Regions from separate parts of the Homo sapiens genome. Here region 2 is linked to region 1. The links are contacts of gene promoters, found by promoter capture Hi-C in blood cells and fetal thymus (Javierre and others, 2016). All regions are on one chromosome and are shown on one strand. The core of a region is centred on a gene start or on the middle of the fragment in contact, and the rest is flanking DNA. Distances in the headings are between cores, read along the strand shown.

What was found. The method cuts DNA at HindIII sites, captures the fragments that hold promoters and counts their contacts. A CHiCAGO score of 5 or more calls a contact.
Region 2: a contact is called between a fragment that was not itself captured here and the fragment with the promoter of RBM12B-AS1 in region 1, in 1 of 17 cell types (non-activated CD4 T cells). The highest score is 6.0, in non-activated CD4 T cells.

What each region holds. Positions count from the first base shown.
Region 1 is chr8:93,737,206-93,742,023 of GRCh38, reverse strand. It overlaps RBM12B-AS1 (RBM12B antisense RNA 1), which reads right to left and starts at 1,913. Exons shown (of 1, transcript NR_027259.1): 1 at 1,205-1,913. RBM12B (RNA binding motif protein 12B) reads left to right here and starts at 1,015. Exons shown (of 4, transcript NM_001377960.1): 1 at 1,015-1,143; 2 at 1,328-1,395; 3 at 4,669-4,717. RBM12B-DT (RBM12B divergent transcript) reads right to left here and starts at 941. Exons shown (of 2, transcript NR_183450.1): 1 at 565-941. RefSeq lists an enhancer at 989-1,108. The HindIII fragment of the contact is 1,858 bases long and covers 961-2,818 here.
Region 2 is chr8:86,504,570-86,509,387 of GRCh38, reverse strand. RMDN1 (regulator of microtubule dynamics 1) reads left to right here and starts at 702. Exons shown (of 10, transcript NM_016033.3): 1 at 702-896; 2 at 2,276-2,393. The coding sequence starts at 768. It also overlaps the pseudogene SLC2A3P4. RefSeq lists an enhancer at 788-957. The HindIII fragment of the contact is 1,164 bases long and covers 2,159-3,322 here.

The DNA of each region.
Region 1 (4,818 bases), core at 664-3,163:
GTAGCTATACAACGTGGTGGGAAACTTTGTTATTTGCAAATGATAAAACCAAACACAAGGTTGTTCACCAGCTATTACGTAGCAGGCATCACAGAGTACACCTGTAATAGTGCTTTTCCATTACTGAAATTTCAGTACTGGCTCATCTGTTCTCTTGTTTCAAAAATCCAGAAGATGGGAACAAATTTATAAAGACACTTCACAAGGTTATTTATATCTATAAAACCGACTAAGCATGCATTTATTAAGCCCCCAGGTGTTGGGATTGTACTTGGCGAACATCTAAGGCAGTAAAATTACCTTTTCTGTGGTATTCTAGGGTCTACAGGAGCTTTTTTATTTTTGTTTTGAGATGGAGTTTCACTCTTTTGACCTGGCTGGAGTGCAGCGGTGCGATCTCGGCTCACTACAGCCTCCATCTCTCGGGTTCAAGCGATTCTCCTGCCTCAGCCTCCCGAGTAGCTGGGATTACAGGCGCCCGCCACCATGCCAGGCTGACTTTTTTGTATTTTTAGTAGAGACGGGGGTTTCGCTTTTTGGGCGGGCTGGTCTCGAACTACTGACCTCAAGTGATTCGCCCGCTTCGGCCTCCCAAAGTGCTGGGATTACAGACGTGAGCCACCGTGCCCGGCCACAGGAGCTTTTTAGAAGATGTTTTACGCCACACAGTAATGCAACACTGAAAAGACAAGTCGCCTTTTCTCTGCTTTTGCATCTCTTTCCTTAACTTCTGGAAATCTTTAAAGTTTGTCCGCCGTACTTCGACAGTTGTCTACCGAAGATTCTCAGCACATCTACCGGCTGAGCCCTGAATGTGTCTCTGAATTTCTCCCGTTGAAAGTCGAGGTCCCTGGGCTGGGCAGAATCTGGGCATGCGCAGAAGCTCAGCCAACCCCGGGGCTCCGCCTCCCCTCCTCTAGCGAGGGGAAACGGGTGAGCGGCAGCGCGCGTGCGCAAGCTTGGTGGTGGGTTGCGCCTGCAGAGCGCATGGGCAGATAAACCGTACGTCCGTTTGTCCGGACCGGAGGGGCAGTGGGCGCCATCTTCTTCTGGGCTCACTGAGGGTCTACCTGTTTTGGGGAGGCTGCTGCGACGAAGAGTTCCCTCAGCCTCCGGCCTTGTGTGTCCGACTCGGCAGCAGTGGTGTGTGTTTATTGCCAAGTGCGAAGCAGTTCCCCTCGGGGCGCCGGGGGTGGGGAGGGCTGGGCGACCAAGCCGGAAGAACGGGGAAAGGCGGGACCGGCGGCCGCGCCAGTATCTAGCGTAGCTCCTGCCGTTAGGGCACCCTCTTTTCTTGCTAAAACACCGACTCTTCCTTTCCCGTCAGCTTCCATGTGGTGGTGTATGTGCGCTTCCCAGGGATCTTGAGAGTGAAGATCTCGAAGGATTTCATAGGTATATTTTTTTCTTTGCTATGTCATCGTAGTCAGTGGTGGCAGAAAAGCGCTGCAGGCCCAGCTCGTTAGGCTTGAGAAGGGCAAGTGTTTTCAGTTAGATCTGGGGGCAGTTCACCCTCTGGCGAGTTAGGGTGGAATGTTTGCCCTTGAGACGGCGTAACGGAAAGGCACGGAGGTTGGGCGGTCCAGGTTAATTTGAAGGCTGATTTTGGCTGAAAGTCTGGCGACAACATCGGATCCCACGTAGCAACTTTGGCCTGGCGCGAAAGAAGGAAGCTCTGACCCCTGGGAGTTGTGGACAAAGGCTTTGGGCTGTAGAATCGATGCCTTCGGATGATTCCCGTTTGAGGATGTTGGGAGAAATCCTGTGCCATGTGGATTCGTCTTCATTTACAGTTCTTCCTAGGGACTGTGGCTCTCATTGGTCATTCCTTTGGTTTTTATTTTAAACATCTACATTATAAAAGGTGGATCATCGTAAAGAATAATTATGGGTTGGTGTAGATTATTTTCTGCAGGGGAAACTCACGTTTAGAGTGTGAATATGCTACATCATGACCTTGGGCTTTACGAAGTAGTCGCAGAGTTAAAAAAAATTCTCTCCCTCACCATATCTGGAAAATGACTTTTTCTTCGCTAGTTAAAAATCAAATGGATCTGATGAGATATTACTTATTTAAATTCTGTCTCCCTCCCGTTTCCCTCTCTGTATCCCCTTAAGTCTTGATTAGAAGAGGCACGTTACGTATTGTTTAGTTATAATGGTGATTAAGTGGGATGAATCGTTGGATAAAAATAGCAGTTATTTAAAATGCGCTTTAAATTTCACTGACTTAAGTGATCTTTTAGGGACCCACTCTTCTTTTCATAGAAATTTTAACAGATTATTGTCTTCAAATGAACACAAAGGCACAAAAATACTTTTTGCATTCATAACTAGAAAAACGCAAAATTTTAATTGCAGACTACTTGAGGGTAATTTTCGTGTTTTGCTTTTGTGTAATTTAGTGTGTTAAGAGTTGAATTTCTGGAGAATTTGCTTAAGGAAATATAGCATGTTGGAACCACAGAAGTGCCCATTTTGAGAGCTGGTCTCTTACAGTTGGTCTCCAAGGTGTGTTATTGTAGAGGCATAAATGGTACATTACCCTACTGTCTCAAGGGTAGAGAAGTTTAAGCATTAGTTTTGTTTAACTGTGGCAAATGAGAATAAACTTTCTAAATAGTCTGCTTGAATTGGAATTCATGAGATTTGTGCTCATGAAACTACTTGGTTAAAAGATAGTTTTTAAGTGAGGTAGGATAAATTACTAGAGTTTTTTTGAATTTGAGATATAATTATTCCTTGAAACGTCTCTAATTTCTCTTGTAGATGAATTTATGTTCCCAGGGTAAATCCCGTTAAAATTTTTTTAAAAGCTTAGGAGAGACAAGAATATGTATAGCTTATGGTGCTTTCTAAAATATCTTAAAAAGAGTAGCTAAGCCAATTTGCATAGGAGGGAGTCTTGGGACTTTAATATGGATAAAGTAAGTATTCCAGAAGCCATTTGTAGTTTTTGTTGAAGTGTTAGTATGGATATTGGTTTGTTGAAGAAAATAGGCTTTTTTTCTTTTTTTGTTACTGTGCAAATACTTTAATAGCAAACCTGATTAATATTTTTCAGATGTAGAATGTGTGAAGTAATTTGATGTCTTTGCTAGTTTAGCTTCTGGTTAATCTACGTACCCTTTTTTAAAGGAAAACAGACCTCAGTGAATGTATCTTCAGACCCCCACTTTGGGGAACAGTGGTACTTAAGTGTAAGTACTGGATTCTGGATTAACGCAACATTTATTTGTACATTAAAGACATGTAAATTACTCCAGGCGCAGTGGCTCATACCTGTAAATCCTAGCACTGTGGGAGGCTGAGGTGAGCTGATTGCTTGAGCCCATGAGTTCCCTACCAGCCTGGGCAACATGGTGAAACCCTGGCTCTACAAAAAATACAAAAATTAGCCGGGTGTGGTGGTGCACACCTGTAGTCCCAGCTACTGGGGAGGCTGAGGTGGGAGCATTGCCTGAGCCTGGGTAAGTCGAGGCTGTAGTGAGCCAAGATCGCACCAGTGCACTCCAGCCTGGGTAGCAGAGCAAGAGAGACCCTGTCTCCCCCACCAAAGAAAGTGAGTGTAAATTATAATTATTTATTTGGCAAGTCTTCATGAAATAGTTTGGGTATCCCTGAAAGTATTAAACGCAAACTTCTTTAAAAAATTACATTGAGATTTTTCAGTAAACGGGTAATCCCAGTATTCCAAGTTAATTTTTAATTTTACTTTTCTACATCATCATTTGGGTTTCCTTAGTAGAGTGCAGAATAGTTGTTTGAAATGGAAATCTGCTATTGGCATTATTAATAAGATAAATAGCATTTTCTGTTTGGCTTGAGATGAATTGTAACAGTTACTATTTTTGCAATAGGAGTGGTATTGAGATTTTTAACTTTAGGGATATTGTAGTATTTGCCTTAATTATACTGGCTTCATGAAATTTGGTTCTGTGCTTGGATGTATGAGCTGTTTATATAGACCTTTAAATTGTATCCAAACAATAGCCCATAGGTTTGGATTTATTGTTTTAAAAATTGATTTTTGAATTTCAGGCTTTGCTGTTTTATTCATTTATTGTGTAATTTTGAATGGTTGCCTTAATTTGATTTGGTCTTATGTTTTGAAAGGGAGGAGAACAGCACGAGAGTTGGATATAAATATGTACTAGATTTTTGGATTTTCATGTGGCAAAATGATTGAAGTTCTTTTTTTTTTTTTTTTTTTTTTGAACTTTGGGTATTGAGATTTTACTTGTAGAACAGTTTTTTGAAGTAGATGTAAAACTTGTGTACAGCAAAATGTATAGACCCTAAGGATAGAATTCAGTAAACCTTGATAAATTTATACACCCATGTAACTACTGCTGCATTCAAAATATGTAACATTTCCATCACTCCTTTCTTCGTGCTACTTCCAATCAAGAGCAGTTGTTAAATTTTCGGCAAGTTTCAAATTTTTAAATAATTTTTATATGTCTATTTGGATATTGTATCTCCTTTTTGCAGAAGGATGATTAATTTCCCCTTGGAACAAAAGACCATTTTGTAACACCCGTAATTGTGGTTCCTTATTCTGCTTCACTTTTGATAGGTAATTCTGAAATGGATATCCTACTCTGGCGTTGTTTAAGATAAATTACAGGGTTCAAGGATTAATTATATTTCATTTTCTTTCCACAGTTAAGTTGCTTTTACAGAGTTAACAGGTCTCCAAGAAATTTTAAAAAAGGTAAGATATCCAGAGTTTAAGGCTTTGAGGCTCAACAAAAAACATGTGAAGTAGAATAGTACATCTAGGTATCCATGGCTTCTGTTCTTTTTTTTTTAAAA
Region 2 (4,818 bases), core at 1,491-3,990, 7.2 Mb after region 1:
ATTTTATTTTACTCGAGTAAAATAAAATACTTTGCTCGAGTAAGTAAAACATCTTATTGAAGAATTTTAGGGGAGACCAGGGTTTGTTTTTGTTTCTGTTTTTTACTACACATGCCCTAGCATTCAAGGGCATCAGTATCCTTTCCAGAGGCCTCCTCCCGCTAGTTCCTCTTCCCAAAACGCTTTGCATTTTTTGTTTCTTTGCTCTGGACTCTCTCTTGAATCTACCCCCTTGAGTCGCTCAGTCGAAGAGACTGAGACTTTCCCTTCTTCATGTTGGGCAACATAATTCTTCCAATTATTTACTTCCAAAAAAGACCCACTAGTACCAAGATTCAATCTACTTTTGAAGGCAGCAGATAATTAAAATGACAATTTTTTTTCTGGCATACTTGTATTCTCGGGTCTATTTCCGAGCTTTCAGTTCTATTCTGGCGACGAATCCTTGTGCCCAAACCATGAAAGACCCCCTAGAGAGATGGAGCAGAAACAAGTCAGAGCGCCTGAAGAGAGCGCTCTCACGGCCTCAGTCCTGGACGCAGGCGCGGAAAGTCCATTAAGTCCCACCCAATCGGGGTATTTCCCACCCCCTAAGCCCGTGCACCGGAAACCATGGGGGCGGAAGAGGTGCTGGGCAGGAGGCGGAAGAGGTGCTGTGCAGGAGGCGGGCGGGCGCGGTTCTTTCCGGAAGGATTGAATCTCCTTTAGCCCCGCCCGCCTCCGTAGCTGCCTGAAGTAGTGCAGGGTCAGCCCGCAAGTTGCAGGTCATGGCGCTGGCTGCTCGACTGTGGCGCCTTCTGCCTTTCCGACGTGGAGCCGCCCCGGGGTCTCGTCTCCCTGCGGGGACTTCGGGCAGCCGCGGGCATTGCGGCCCCTGTCGATTCCGCGGCTTCGAGGTACCCCCGTGGTCCTGGCTCCCGCTCCTCACTTCCTACTCAGTGGGTTCCGGCTCCCCCTTAACTTAAGTGGTGGCGGCCCCGCGCTGCCTAAGGAATGTGGTGAACCGAGGAAAGAACTCGGGGCCACTGTGCCTGGAACGCCCGGACAGGTCCCTTCCATTTTGCAAACCTCCACTATCCTTAACTGGGGCTGTCAGAGAAGGAGTGGGGTTTGCCCCCACGCGCCCCAGAAGCTGCCTGCTACCCGCCCTTCTTGTGCGAAATGTAAAACAGGACGGGAAAGAACCTTGACCGCTGTGAAATTATTCTCCCTGTAGGCGATGACAGATACAACAGCGCTTGAGGCTGCCCCTTTCAGACTTTGAAAAGTGTGGTGTGTGATTTAAAAAGTTCTACGACTCAGAAGCAGAGATTTCATACTGTTTAGGTTTTTGTTTAAAAATGTTTATTTCTCAGTTGCCCGTTGTATCTGCATAACGTCAATGAAGGTTGTCGGCATGTTGTAGTCTCAGTTCTGGTATTTCTATTAGACTGCTCGTGGGCCTCTGTTTATTCTTGTCAGGGAATTGGAATGGCATTAATGCATATGATATATTTCACATGAACTAGGGGTTTCATTATTTTAAACTCAAATTTTTAACTGCTCAGTTAAAATCTTTCAGAATTATTATGGGACTGATGGTGGGGAGGGGTGGTTAAAATTTGGCATATTCCCCTTCCTTGGAAGTTTATAACCAAATGGGGAGGTTATAGATAATATAGGCAGAGAGATGGGAGGAGTTCTAAGTATGAAACTAGTTAGCCGTAAGTTTTCAAATTGGAACAATGATGAGTTTGAAGTCCCATTTTAGGCCTGGCCCCTTGGCTCAGCCTGTAATCCCAGCACTTTGGGAAGCCGAGGCGGAAGGATTGCTTGAGTCCAGGGGTTTGAAACCAGCCTGGGCAACACAGTGAGACCCTGTCTCTACAAAAAAATTTAAAAGTTAGCCATGTACATTTTTATATGTAGTAATTACTATATATGATAATCTTGTCTGTAAGATTCATTTTTATTATGTGTTGGTGTCTCATATTTTACTTCATACAATTTGCAATATCCATGCATTTGCAAATAAGTTGTAGCAAATAAGTTGTAGCTCTTCCTTTCCAGCAGGAGTGTGATTTTTAGATGAGCGGCGACTCCAGGGGATATCTTTTTCTCAATAAGATACGCTTTGAGATAGTTTTACTAAAGATTTTGATGAAGTAATTTTTAAGCTTCCAGTATTATGATCGATTGCTTTGGGGGTGGGAGAAAATTCATGTAATTTTTGCTTGGGGTAGCAGTACCTTCAAATTTTCAAAGTTTGTAACTCTTAACATAATTGTTTCCATAGGTAATGGGAAACCCAGGAACTTTCAAAAGAGGCCTTTTACTCTCAGCTTTGTCGTATTTGGGTTTTGAAACTTACCAGGTTATCTCTCAGGCTGCTGTGGTTCATGCCACAGCCAAAGGTAAGCATAAATTAGATATATGGAACATTTAGAGTTTTTTTGTGTGCGTACATTCAGAATTTTTATTTTAAAACAAAGAATCAGGGTAATGTTAATAATAGAAAATCCATATGGAAATATTCACAATCTGCTCAGTGAGAAATGGGAAAACAACTTCCCTGCCTAACTGCCAACCTACTGTTTGAGGAGCCAGAAGTTGACGTGAAGTTGGAAGAAGGTCACCTTTTCCAGCTAAACCCCACTCCATAGCTATGTGCATTTTTATTTGAAGTCTCCGTGACCAGAGGAAACAGTGAGAACTGAGAACCAAGATACCGTTATCAGCAAGGGTTTGGCTAAAGGGTCTGAGATGTGTAAGCACCAAGAAGGGGAAGGGAAATTGAGCAACATATGAAAAAGGGGCTGTAGGAACACAGAAAAAATAAGTCAACAATAACCTATTTCCATCCAGAGCAAAGGGACAGTGCACACATATTCATCCTCTCAAGTGTGGGCTACACTGTACATTGACTCATACTATCTCGAACATGGTCTGTTGGAAAGATTGAGACCCCCTAAGGGCACTTGGCATAGGACCACAGTGACATGGTAACAGACATAGACAAGCATGGCATGACCCTAAAGGCAACAACACACCTTTAGATAATAATCGTTCAGAAAAAAATCCCAGAGCTGAGGTTATAAATTCCAAGTTAGCTATAAACATTCTTTGGGGAATTCCTTTAAAGATATGAGTTAAAATAAAACAAAATCAACACCTAAAATCTCCTAAAGCACAAAATGGAGAAATAATGAATCTCTACCAAGAACTGATTATTTTAAGTTTCTCATTTGGATGGCTCTCCCACCAGATAGGTGGTGGGATTACTTCAAAAGTAATGAGTCTCCTACAAGGAGGAGTTGTTTGGTCCAGTGAGGGGGAACAAGCTTTCTAGAAATAACTTTCCCTTCCCTTGACTCCATTCAAAATTAGAACCCATCAACCACCATTAACTACAATGCCCATATTAGTTAATAATCCTAGATTTCAAGTACTACTACATGTAAACTATTAAAAGAAAAAAGTTCCAAAGGAAATCAATAACTTTATTATGTAGGCATATGACTTTTATGGGAAATTAAGAGTTTCCATCTGAAGGACAGAAATTGTCAAGAGGTAATGTGCAGACTTCAGGCACCACATAATATACCCTCCAATAATGAACTACATTTCTCCCTAAATTCTTCATATTGCACGCTAACCTCCCCAGCATGAAATCTTCTACTGTATAACCTCTCTTTAAACACCTCCCTCCAATCTCAATTTCCTTCTGTTTTTATTATTTGGCAAAATTACACTTAAAAAAATAAACATTTCCATCATGGGACATGTATACCTATGTAACAAACCTGCGCATTCTGCACCTGTATCCCAGAACTTAAAAAATTATGTAATTAAACCAGAGGGTAAAATAAATAAAACTCAAGTTAATTTGCCTTGTAGAGCTATATGGAAGTGAGGAAGGTGCTCTTACATAAACCCCGTCTGCCTTCCACACTCATATGTATATCTTCTTCCTGATAAGTCTGAGGTTGGGGGAACTGCGCCTTACTTTTCCTCTCCTATATCCCCTAGTGCGGCAATATTAGAACCCAAGGAAGGAAAAACTGGCAAAGTTGTCATATGCCAAGTGGCCATTGCCTCCTGAAATGAAGGTAGGTTCACTTGGTCTCTCCTAAGCAGAAGAGAATGTCCAGGAAATAAAATATTTAAAAAACCATTGAAAATCCAACAAACCCCAGCCTTGAGGTGCGCATGGAGTGCGTGGGATAAGAAAGGAATCAAGTAGCAGCATTCAGAAGCAGTCCTGGGTTCATCCTGATGAGGTCTCTCATTCAGGGAGAGGTGGCTTTCCCATGCTGGGAGGGAGGTGGAAGGAGGCATGACTTAGACATTGGTGGTGGTCTCCTTAGCAGCCTGGATGCTGTTCATCTCCATGATGCCATCCTTCCCAGATCTATCTGCACCATGTGCCTGCCTTTTAAAGGCCCATGTGATATCCTCAAAAGCCCTGCCATGGGTCTCAGGGACTTTGAAGAAGGTAAAGGTCAAGAAGGTGATGAGGAAGCTGGCGAAGATAATAAAAATACAGGCTCCTAAATAATAAGCAGCAGAGGGGAAGAGCAGTCCGACTAAGAAGTTGGAGGTATAGTTGGAGCAGCCGGCCATTGCAGTCGCAGCTGGGCGGGGGCCCTGGCTGAAGAGTTCGGCCACAATAAACCAGGAAATGGGACCTGGTCCAATTTCAAAGGCCACAAAGACCAAGATAGCCCCGATAAAGACAAAGCTCATCCCATTATACTCATCCTTTAATAACAAACAGTCATGAGCATGGAACAAAAAGCCATCCCTCCAAGGCCTATCATATGCAGGGTCCGCCTTCCT